Linked DNA regions of Homo sapiens: region 1 is linked to region 2. Evidence: promoter capture Hi-C in human tissues and cell types (Jung and others, 2019). All regions are on one chromosome and are shown on one strand. The core of a region is centred on a gene start or on the middle of the fragment in contact, and the rest is flanking DNA. Distances in the headings are between cores, read along the strand shown.

Region 1 (4,695 bases), core at 516-3,015, 57 kb after region 2:
GGGGGAGAACCACAGCCTCCCTCTCCTGACTCCCCCAACCCATGCTCCGAAGTCAGCACCTGCATCAGCCAAACAGCCCCCCTCAAGCCTCACCTTCTCTCCTCTAAGTGGAAAGATCCTCCAATCTATCTGTTCAAGCCCTGCCTTCTCCAGGTTTAGGGTCAGAAACACAGGAACCCAGACTTTGGCCACCCCATTCAGATGACTGTCTCTGCAGAAGCCAACTCCACACCTCCTGTTGCATAAGACTGGGCTCCTGGATTGGGAAGAGGTCACTGGGTTTTTCAGAGCTTCCAGGAGTGGAGGCAGGCCTAGCCTATGGCCTGGGAGTCTGGCAGCCTCTTGGACTTCTGGAGGATGGGGGAGGCAGGCCTCCCTGGCTCAGAAGTTGGCATGGAGGAAGCAGGTTGAGGAGAATTGCCCTACCTTCTCAGGAAAGATTGAGACCCAACCATTACACCTTGACAGCTGGCCTGCAGGACTGCCAGTTCCCTCACCTCCCTCTCAGTTTCCCAGGTGAGCCAGCAATGGGTTGTGATGGGCCAGGTCAAAGGTGCCCAATACCTCCTATTCCACCATCCATCCACTTAAAGGTCTGCTCCTTATCCACTATTCCCAGTGCCTGCCTGACTTCCCCAGTGCCAGGGGCTTCTGGGAACATCACTCTAGTCTCTCAGGATTTACAAGCCTGCCCAGCCAAGACCCCAGCAGCCACAGCAGATCTGAGTCAGGGCCCTCCCCTTTCCTTTGCTCTCTTGGTGGCTGTCCTGGGATTGGCACTCAAAACAAACCAGGCCGCCTGTGCCCCAGCTTCTAAAGCTCTGCCCAGGAGGCGGCCAGGTCTTGACTATTGTTCATGATTTGAGGCTTTGAGGGAGCCAGAGGCCAACAGGACAGGCAGGGCAGGTGGGGGAGGTGGGCTCAGGTGTGAATAGAAGACCCCAGAGGCAGCCTGAGGACTGGGTAACAAGAGTGGGTACAGTATGGTACTCACACCTCTCTGGGCAGCCTTTGTGCACGTGCATGTGTGCATGTATGTGTGTGTGCATGCATTTGTGCGCATGTGTGTGCATGTGTGTGTATGTATGTGTGGATGTGTGTGTGTGTCTCCTGGAGTGAGGGGGAAAGCGGCTCATGAGCACTCTTGCTTTCTGTCCATCAAATCCCATGCTTTTCCGATGCTCATTTCTTCCACTCACAGCTGCAGCCCCCGGGAACCAGATGACATATTTTCCCTTAGTCATGACCTTGCAGAAGGAAAGCAAAGTCCTTGTTCCCTCCCACTCACAGCTGTGCTTGAGCCTGGCCCCCTTACACCCTGCTGGGGTGGGGGCCCCAGGAATGCCTAGCTGGGGACTGGAGTTTGTCAAAGACACACACACCCTTCCAGCAGCCTGGAGGGTAGGCCAGGTTGAGGGAGGTTTATGTTTTCCTGCAGCTTGGTCTCAGGGCTGCTGCACTCTAAACCCAACTCCAGTCCTATCCTGGCATGGCTGCCCATGCTGTGGCTGGATTAAATCTGGCCCCGAGACAGCAGGCACCACCCACTAGCTCCTCCTGGCCCTGGATGCCTGGAGCCAACGGGTCCAAGTCAACAGGGCAGGTCTTTGGGGGGACAGGGAGGGGGGTCTCTCCTTGCAGACAGCCTGTGGAGAGGCCTAGGGAAGCAGGTCTTGGTGAGGTCCCCTGGGTTCTAAGACTGCATTGGGAGCCCCGAGAGAGCCTGGGGACCTGGAACTCAGCCACGTGCCCATCTGCGGGGTGCAGAATGGGGCTGGGAGCAGGGAGTGAGCTCATCCCCTGCTCCTATTCTGTGAAGAATCAGAGGCCCTTCTTGCTCTCCAGATTCTAGAATAGCATCAAGACCCGGAGGAGTCAGCTGTGCCAGGAAAAGCCATTACCCCGAGAGCCTCCCTCCACCTGCTAAAAGCCTCCCCCTTCCCCTGGGGCCTCCCCCTCCCACCCAGTTGCTTTATCTGCACTCACCTAGCCCTGATGACCTTCATATTAGATGGGGCAGGGAGGTGGGGAAAATAGTTGCTTAACTCTTTCTCTGCTGGAGGAAAGTCAGCACCTGCTCCCTTGCCTTGCCCCGTCACCTTTACCCACCTCTTTGCACCTGGGAATTCCTCCTGCCACCCTCCCAGGAGGGTTGGGAGGATACGAGGACAGTAGAAGACAGGCTGGCATGGGGTTCAATCTGAATCCTGTCACTATGTTGCCTGTGACTTCACACCTTCATTTGTGTCTTCTCTGTGCACACAGAGCCACATGAAGATCCCTGGGAATCCCCCAGGAATGTGTCCATGCAGGTGCAGTTTTGTGTCCAGCTCTGGGGTTGACATCTGGGTGCAGAAGGACTGACTTCTTCCTGACACACCCTTGGCGCTTCTGCTTTTCTGCTGTTTCTGTGCAGGTCCCTGAGGAGGGAGGCTGTGAGGCCTTATTGTGCACTAACTATATATCTATAAGTAGCAGATCGGGTGGCTGGGTAGCACAGGGAGGCTGCTGAGAGCCTGAGGTCTCTGACTTTGCTGGGGCAGCTGTCAGGAGCGGGAGCCTAGGCACAGAGCGTCATGGGAGGTACTTAGATTGCACCCCTTGGTCAAGCATGGTCACAGAGCCGGAGGGAAAAAGGGACCCGAGGGTGGAGGGAGCAAGCTGAGCGCCACGTTCCTGCCAGGCTTCTGCCTTCCCTCTCTAGCCTGGCAGCCTCCCACACACCACTTTGCGGGTGTGAGGAGTCCATTCTGCAGAGCCTGCAGGGGTGTGTCTGGATGGACGCTCATCTGAGAAGGACTCCGGCTCTCTGGGAGATGCCCCTTCTCACCCCAGCTTGTACTCAGTGCTCCTTCCCCTTCATGCTGCCCTCAGGCAGGTCCTCTTGCAAAAACACCCAAGCTGTTTTGTATCACAAATGAGGGAATAACATGAACTGGGGCTTTCTGGATGCCAGGAGCTGAACATGCTTTCTTTCCAGTCCTTATAACACTCTCTCAGGGCGGTACTATTGAAAAAGGAGGAACTTAGTAGGTGCAGAGGGGAGATGATCTCGCCAGGATAAACGCGGGCTCCAAACCCAGCTCTGAATCATTCCCAAGCCTGTGCTCTTTCCAGGATTCCACACCTTGGCCCGAGCAGCCAGACATTCCCAATTGTAGACCCAGAACTGGGGGCATGATGGGGAAAAATCACGCCACGGCAAAGGGGCTGGTCACAGGAGGGTCAATAAGGCTAAGCTCTCTGGTGCTATGGGGTAATAACAGGAATCATATTTATATTTTAATAATTTAAGGTACTAAGAATTATTAACACTTTCTTGGTACTTAGCAATGTGCCAGGCACTACACATATTCATTCGTTTCCTTCCCACAACCGCCCTGCAGGCTGGGCACCGTTAGCATCTCTGTTTTATAGATGAAGAAAATAAGGCACCACAGGTTCTGTACCTTGCCTAACATCACACAGCTGGCACGGGGTAGAGCTGGGATTTGGAACCCAAAATGCCCAGCTGCAGGGTCCTTCTTACAATCACTGTGTCATACTGCCTCAGTCAAAGCACAGCAGGAGTCCTCAGTTGACCCCTGGAACTTGGAGATGGAACTCCTGCAAGCATGGTCACCCACAGAAGAAGGGCTCCTGCAAGCATGGTTACCCACAGGAGCAGGGCTGTGATGAGTGGGAGCAAGGAGCCAGGTCACAGCGTCACTTAAGTCTAAAGGGCAGAGGGAACAGTGAGGGCCGGGGGACTCCAGAGGGCTTCTTGGAGGAGAGGAACAAGCTGGGCTGGGAAGAACCATGTTGGTATTGCTAATGCACAGAGAAGGTGGGGTCTGAGCCAACTGGCCTGCCCCACACTCCCTTTGGGGTCCTTGAGGGTGAAACAAGGGCTGGTGGGGATGACGTCTTTGTTCCCATCCTGGGGTACCATTAGTGCGTCTTGCCTCCCTCCGCAAGGTGTGTGGTGTGGCTCCCCCTGCTACAGGATCTCTGGGATGATTCCTCAGCCCATGACTGCTGCAGTTAATGGAGCAGCGCTGGGGATGGCCCTGGCCTAGTAACCTCTTCTACAGAAGAAGTATTCACTCTCTCCCTGAGCCGTTTGACGGCTCTGGATCTCCGATATCTGTGGGGTGCACTGGGATGCAGAGGGCCCAAGCTTACCTCTCACCTTATACAGCCTGGTCCTGAACAATCTGAGTGCTTGAGGGCTGGAAAGCCCTTTCCACCACCCCCTGCCCCCAGGCCTGGACCCAGCTCCAGGTTTCCAGCTCCAGGGGCCCAGCCCAAGGCCCTGCACACAGCAGGCATCTCAGAAGGCAGCAGGATGTGCGTGCTTCATTGCAAGCATTTAGAACTGGGATTGCCGGGTGGAGCCTGGAAATCTGGGCCAGAAGTTTAGGGAAATAAGGTGAAGAAGAGAGGACAGCCAGGCGGGGCATCGCACAGCCACTCTGCCCAGAGGATTCCTCCCACCGAAACAGAACCTAGAGAAGAGGGAGGCCATGCACACGGGCTCCTGCTGGAGAGCCCTCCCTGGCAAGGGCTAGGAAGTCAGGCGGGCAAAGCATCTACCCTCTACCCCCATCCCTACCCCTGCCCTGAGCCTCTCTAAGTGAGAGGCTTGTGACTAAGTGAAGGCCTCAGTAGTGGCCAGCGAGACAGTGTGGTCACCTGGGCTGGCAGGAGAGCTGG
Region 2 (4,197 bases), core at 1,223-3,722:
GGCAGGCGACAGGCAGCGTGGCTGGGGCTGGGCAGGCCTTCCAGTTTGATTGCAGCCCAGAGGTCAGGTGAGATGAGGTTACAGCAAGCATGGGAGGCCCCAGGAAGCCACTGAGGGTGTTTGAGCCATTGAATGTTCTGGATTTTAGGACATTTCTGTGGCTGACTCCACTGCCATCAGTGTTCATCCACCCCAACTCCAGCCTGAGAGTGCTGGGGCACTGGGCACTCCGGAGTTCTTCAAAGCTCTGATGCAACATGTCCCCAGGGTGTCTGACTCACACAGACAGAGGTGAACCCAAGTTCATTTCCTTGGGATTCCCCTGAGCTCCCAATTTTCTGCTCCCACTTTGAGGGCAGGGGGATGGCAGGCAGCTCAATTGGTTTGGCTAAGTAAGTAGATTCAAACAAATCTCTTTATTCTTATGGATGTCATGCCCTGCAGTGGGAGAAAGAAGCTGAATCTTCTAGATGTCACCCACATGAGGGACTGGACTCCCCATCACCCAGTGCCTGACATACACACAACTTTATTCTGAGACAACAGCTATAGACCACAGCTACATTTACAGGCACCTGGCCCCCAGCCAGTGCCCAGGCCCTGAGGCTCCCAAGGACACAGCTTCAGATTAGAGCCTTCACCTAGGTCAGAAACCATCCTCATGGGTTCCTGGGCCTGTCCTCATTCTGGTCTCTCGCAGGCCACACATACACAGCAGGATATGTGGAGCCCACAGGCTCTCGGTCAGTCAGGCAAGATGAGTGGGGAGCACGCCCTTGCTGACTGCAGGCTATTTTCCAGGTGGTCAGAACCCTGAGTCCTCCAAACAACAGCTCCTTCCCCGAGGCCTGGGTGGAGCCTCTGTCCCTGCTGGATGACCCAAGCCCAGCCAGGCCGCAGCCCCAGCCCCTGGGGAGGCACGCAAGGATTTTTCCTTCTCAAGTTTCAGGTTTTGATGGAGAACAGATGTGCACACATCTGGCTCGGCAACCCCCAGCCTCACCTTTCTACTTCTCCAAACCGTCAGACAGAGCAGGGAGATAAGGGATGGGGCCAGGCCTGGGAACAACAGGGGAGAACTGGCTCTGGGTCCTACACAGGCAAGACATCCTGGCAGGAGGTGGGGGACACAGAAGGGGCCCAGCTCCTCCACCAGGGTGCCCAGACTAAACCCCGGTAGAATGGACCCAGGCAAAGCAGCTGTGGCTGGGTTCTCAGGCCACCCTGGGGCGGGCTGCCTTCCTGCTCCCACCCTCACCTGGGCTGGCCTGAGCACTTCTGCTAAAGGGAATAGGCTCTCCTCATCCTCTGAGACCATCCAAAGACAACAAGGGTGCTTGTTTCCTCAGTGACTTCTCACCAGGCTTTCTCCCTTTGGTTCTCTGCCTTCCCCGAATCCCCCAGCCTGCCCAGAGAACTTGACACTTGGAAACACCACACCCAAATGCTCACCACAGAGACCAATAACCCCTTGAAGGGAGGTCTGCTTGCCTCAACTGCTCTCAGCAGCTTCTCCATCCTGGCTATGGGCCAGAATCACCCAGGGAGCCATCCCTGCAGATCTGAATCATCTGTATTTTTAACACGTCACACATCATACCTAAGGTGACCAGCCTTAGGTGTCTTAACAGCAGGGTGAGGGATGTTGTTCTCATGTAACAGAGGCAGAGACTGAATGAACCCCAGAGAGGCTGTGACTTGCCCAAGGTCACACAGCAAATGAGTGGCAGAGCCAGACCTAGCAGCCCCTGCCCAGGAGCTGCTCCCTGGCCAGTTGCAACCTCTGCCATCACCCCATTCTGATGGCTGACAGAGTGAGGTGGGGTGGTTCCACACTTACCCCTCTGGCTGGAGCTCCTCGCCCCCCTGGGGCTCATCGATGTACCAGCTGCCATAGGAGTAGTCCTCTGTGGCCCCGGGGGAGGTCTGGTTCCCTGCTGGCTGGGACGACATTCTCTGGCCCTTCTCCTTTGACCCCAGGCGAGAGAAAAAAAAAGCCACTACAGATGTGAAAAGAGGCTTAAAAGAGAAAAAAAAAGAAAGAAAGACGGAAAACCCAAACAAAGAAACATTTCTCTTTAATCCTGAAGGTTACTTTCTTACTTTTAGCTCTCTGGGAAAAGCCCGTCTGGGACTGAGGGCCTGAGCAAGCTGGCACGGGAAGAGGACAGGGCCTCTCGTGTCCCCTCCTCCCTTCCCGCCCATCGCACTGGTCCTGCAGAGATAGCTGTCCCCTTGGGGCCCCGGGGCTCCCGCTGGCGCATCTGTCTGACCAACCACCAGCAGGCGTGTGTTCAAAGGACCATTTTCAAAGAAGGCTTGTCCAGTCTGAGCTGCCTAAAGAGACGCCCCTTCCTTCCCCTTTCCCAAGCCCACCTAGACAGACCCACAGACACACCAGAAGGGAGGCCCAGGGAGGAAGGAGTTGCAGAGATGAAAGGGTAGGCAGCCCACGGCCAGCTCCGCACTGCCTGCCTGGGCCCTCCCAGCTGGGCTCCCTTGAGCCCCTCCCCCAGCCTCAGCCTGCCCCTTTCTGGCCCCTTTGGGCCTCGGTGATGGAAATACACCATAATCCTTGACAAAGCCCCCCTCCTGGGGGAGGAGGCCCCAGCACCATTGGCGGCCTGAGCCCTGCAAGGGTGTGGCCAGGAGCCACCCCCACCCCCGCACCTGACTTCACACACATACCTGCCTTCAGCGCCTGCCCCAGAGCTCCCAAGCCCCTGCCCGCCACATCTGCAGTGCCGCACACAGACAGGAGACCAGCATTACAGCAACAACCGAGTGAGACGGACCGCTGGGGCTGGGCTGGGGCGGAGGCAGGGAAGGGGAATCTGTCCGTTTCTTCTCCTAGGGTTTCCATGAAGGAGGCAACATGTGTCTCATTGGTAAACCCTTTTTGTTCCTACAAGTTGATTTCACAAGGAGATAACTCACCCCCACAAGGCGGAAATTAGCTCTTTAAACACAAACCAGACCCACGGGTAGGCAAGAGGAGCCCCGCCTGCCTCCTGCTCCTCCTGGAGTGAGGTTGAGGGTGAGCAAGGGAAGGTCTGGGCCAGGGAGGAGGGCTCCTCCGCATTCTCCCTCCCCAGGAGCAGGACCCTGCCCCAGCCTGGAGGAAGGGGCGAGAGGCAGAAGAAGGTAGAAAGCAGTTCTCAGGCCACTGTCCCTGGTGGAGGTTTAGGCCCCTAAAACTGTGAGGGTCTCTGTCCTTCCAATACCCTACAAGGGGCTTCGGCTTGGACCCTGTCAGCTAAGGCAGTCATTCAACAGCTTTTTTAAGAAGACATTATTCATTTAGTCTTTTAACTTAAATTTATTGAACACACACTATGTGCCAGCACTGTTCTGAGCCCTGAGGCAGGAGAGATGACAGTTCAGCGGGGACACAGCCAGATAACTAAATCCCCTCCAAAGTCTGAGGGTTACAAAGGGAATCACAGGTTGAGCTGGTCTGTACCATGGGAAACCAAATTTAGTCCAAGAGCATTTGGGGATGGGGGGAGATTCCTGAAGAAAAGAACCTTTCCGTGGTGATCTGAAGGGCAGGGGAAAGTCCGCTGAGCAGAGGGTGGCAGGCTCAGGATGGGGATGGGGGTGGGGGAAAGTGTGTTCCCCACAGAGGAAACAGCACGGGTGAAGTCTCAGAGTAGACAGGGCTTGAAATCCTGGAGGCTCTCTTTCAAATTCCCAAGCCTGCAGGGCAGGATTAGGGGCTGAGCACCCTGCTAGCCTGAGTTCCTCCCCCTTCTTCCCAAATGGCCCTTCTTGCAGGAAGAGGGCTCTGTTGCTCTCCACCATCCCACAGAGATATCAGCATCTGCTGACTCAGAGCTGAACCCGAGCTTTATTTGATGTAATGAGGAGCCCACACTGGCCCTTCTGATCCCAGGGATGCGGGAAACTTGCCTTCCAGGCGCGAGTGTGAGCTCCCGGAGGGCGGGACTCTATCCCTCCCACCCCTCCTCCTGCCTTCCCCTGATGCTCAGCGCCTGGCCCTTGGGTAAGAGGGACTTCAGAAATTGAGCTTGGCAAAGCCATTGCTTGTTCTGGCGGCCAGTATTCATTTGTGGGCCTGTCCTATACAGGCGGCTGCTGTGCCCTGAGGTTCACCAGCTGGGCTTCCCAGAGTCCCCGTGCCCACACCAGAGGCCAGCAAGCCCTTCCCTGCTCAGGGGTCTCAGACTGTTACCT

Evidence for each region. Contacts are between HindIII fragments. The study calls those that stand out against the background at their distance.
Region 1: a contact is called between a fragment that was not itself captured here and the fragment with the promoter of STRA6 in region 2, in 1 of the 25 tissues and cell types used here (dorsolateral prefrontal cortex).

What each region holds. Positions count from the first base shown.
Region 1 is chr15:74,257,587-74,262,281 of GRCh38, forward strand. The region is part of intron 2 of CCDC33 (coiled-coil domain containing 33); the gene reads left to right. Among named protein-coding and RNA genes, the nearest start is that of CCDC33, 24 kb to the left of the region's middle. The HindIII fragment of the contact is 5,844 bases long and covers 1-4,687 here.
Region 2 is chr15:74,200,315-74,204,511 of GRCh38, forward strand. It overlaps STRA6 (signaling receptor and transporter of retinol STRA6), which reads right to left and starts at 2,473. Exons shown (of 19, transcript NM_022369.4): 1 at 2,399-2,473; 2 at 1,841-1,968. The coding sequence starts at 1,953. It also overlaps a transcript of CCDC33 not described here. RefSeq lists enhancers at 1-207, 208-841, 275-334, 2,634-2,803, 2,745-3,378. The HindIII fragment of the contact is 11,640 bases long and covers 1,143-4,197 here.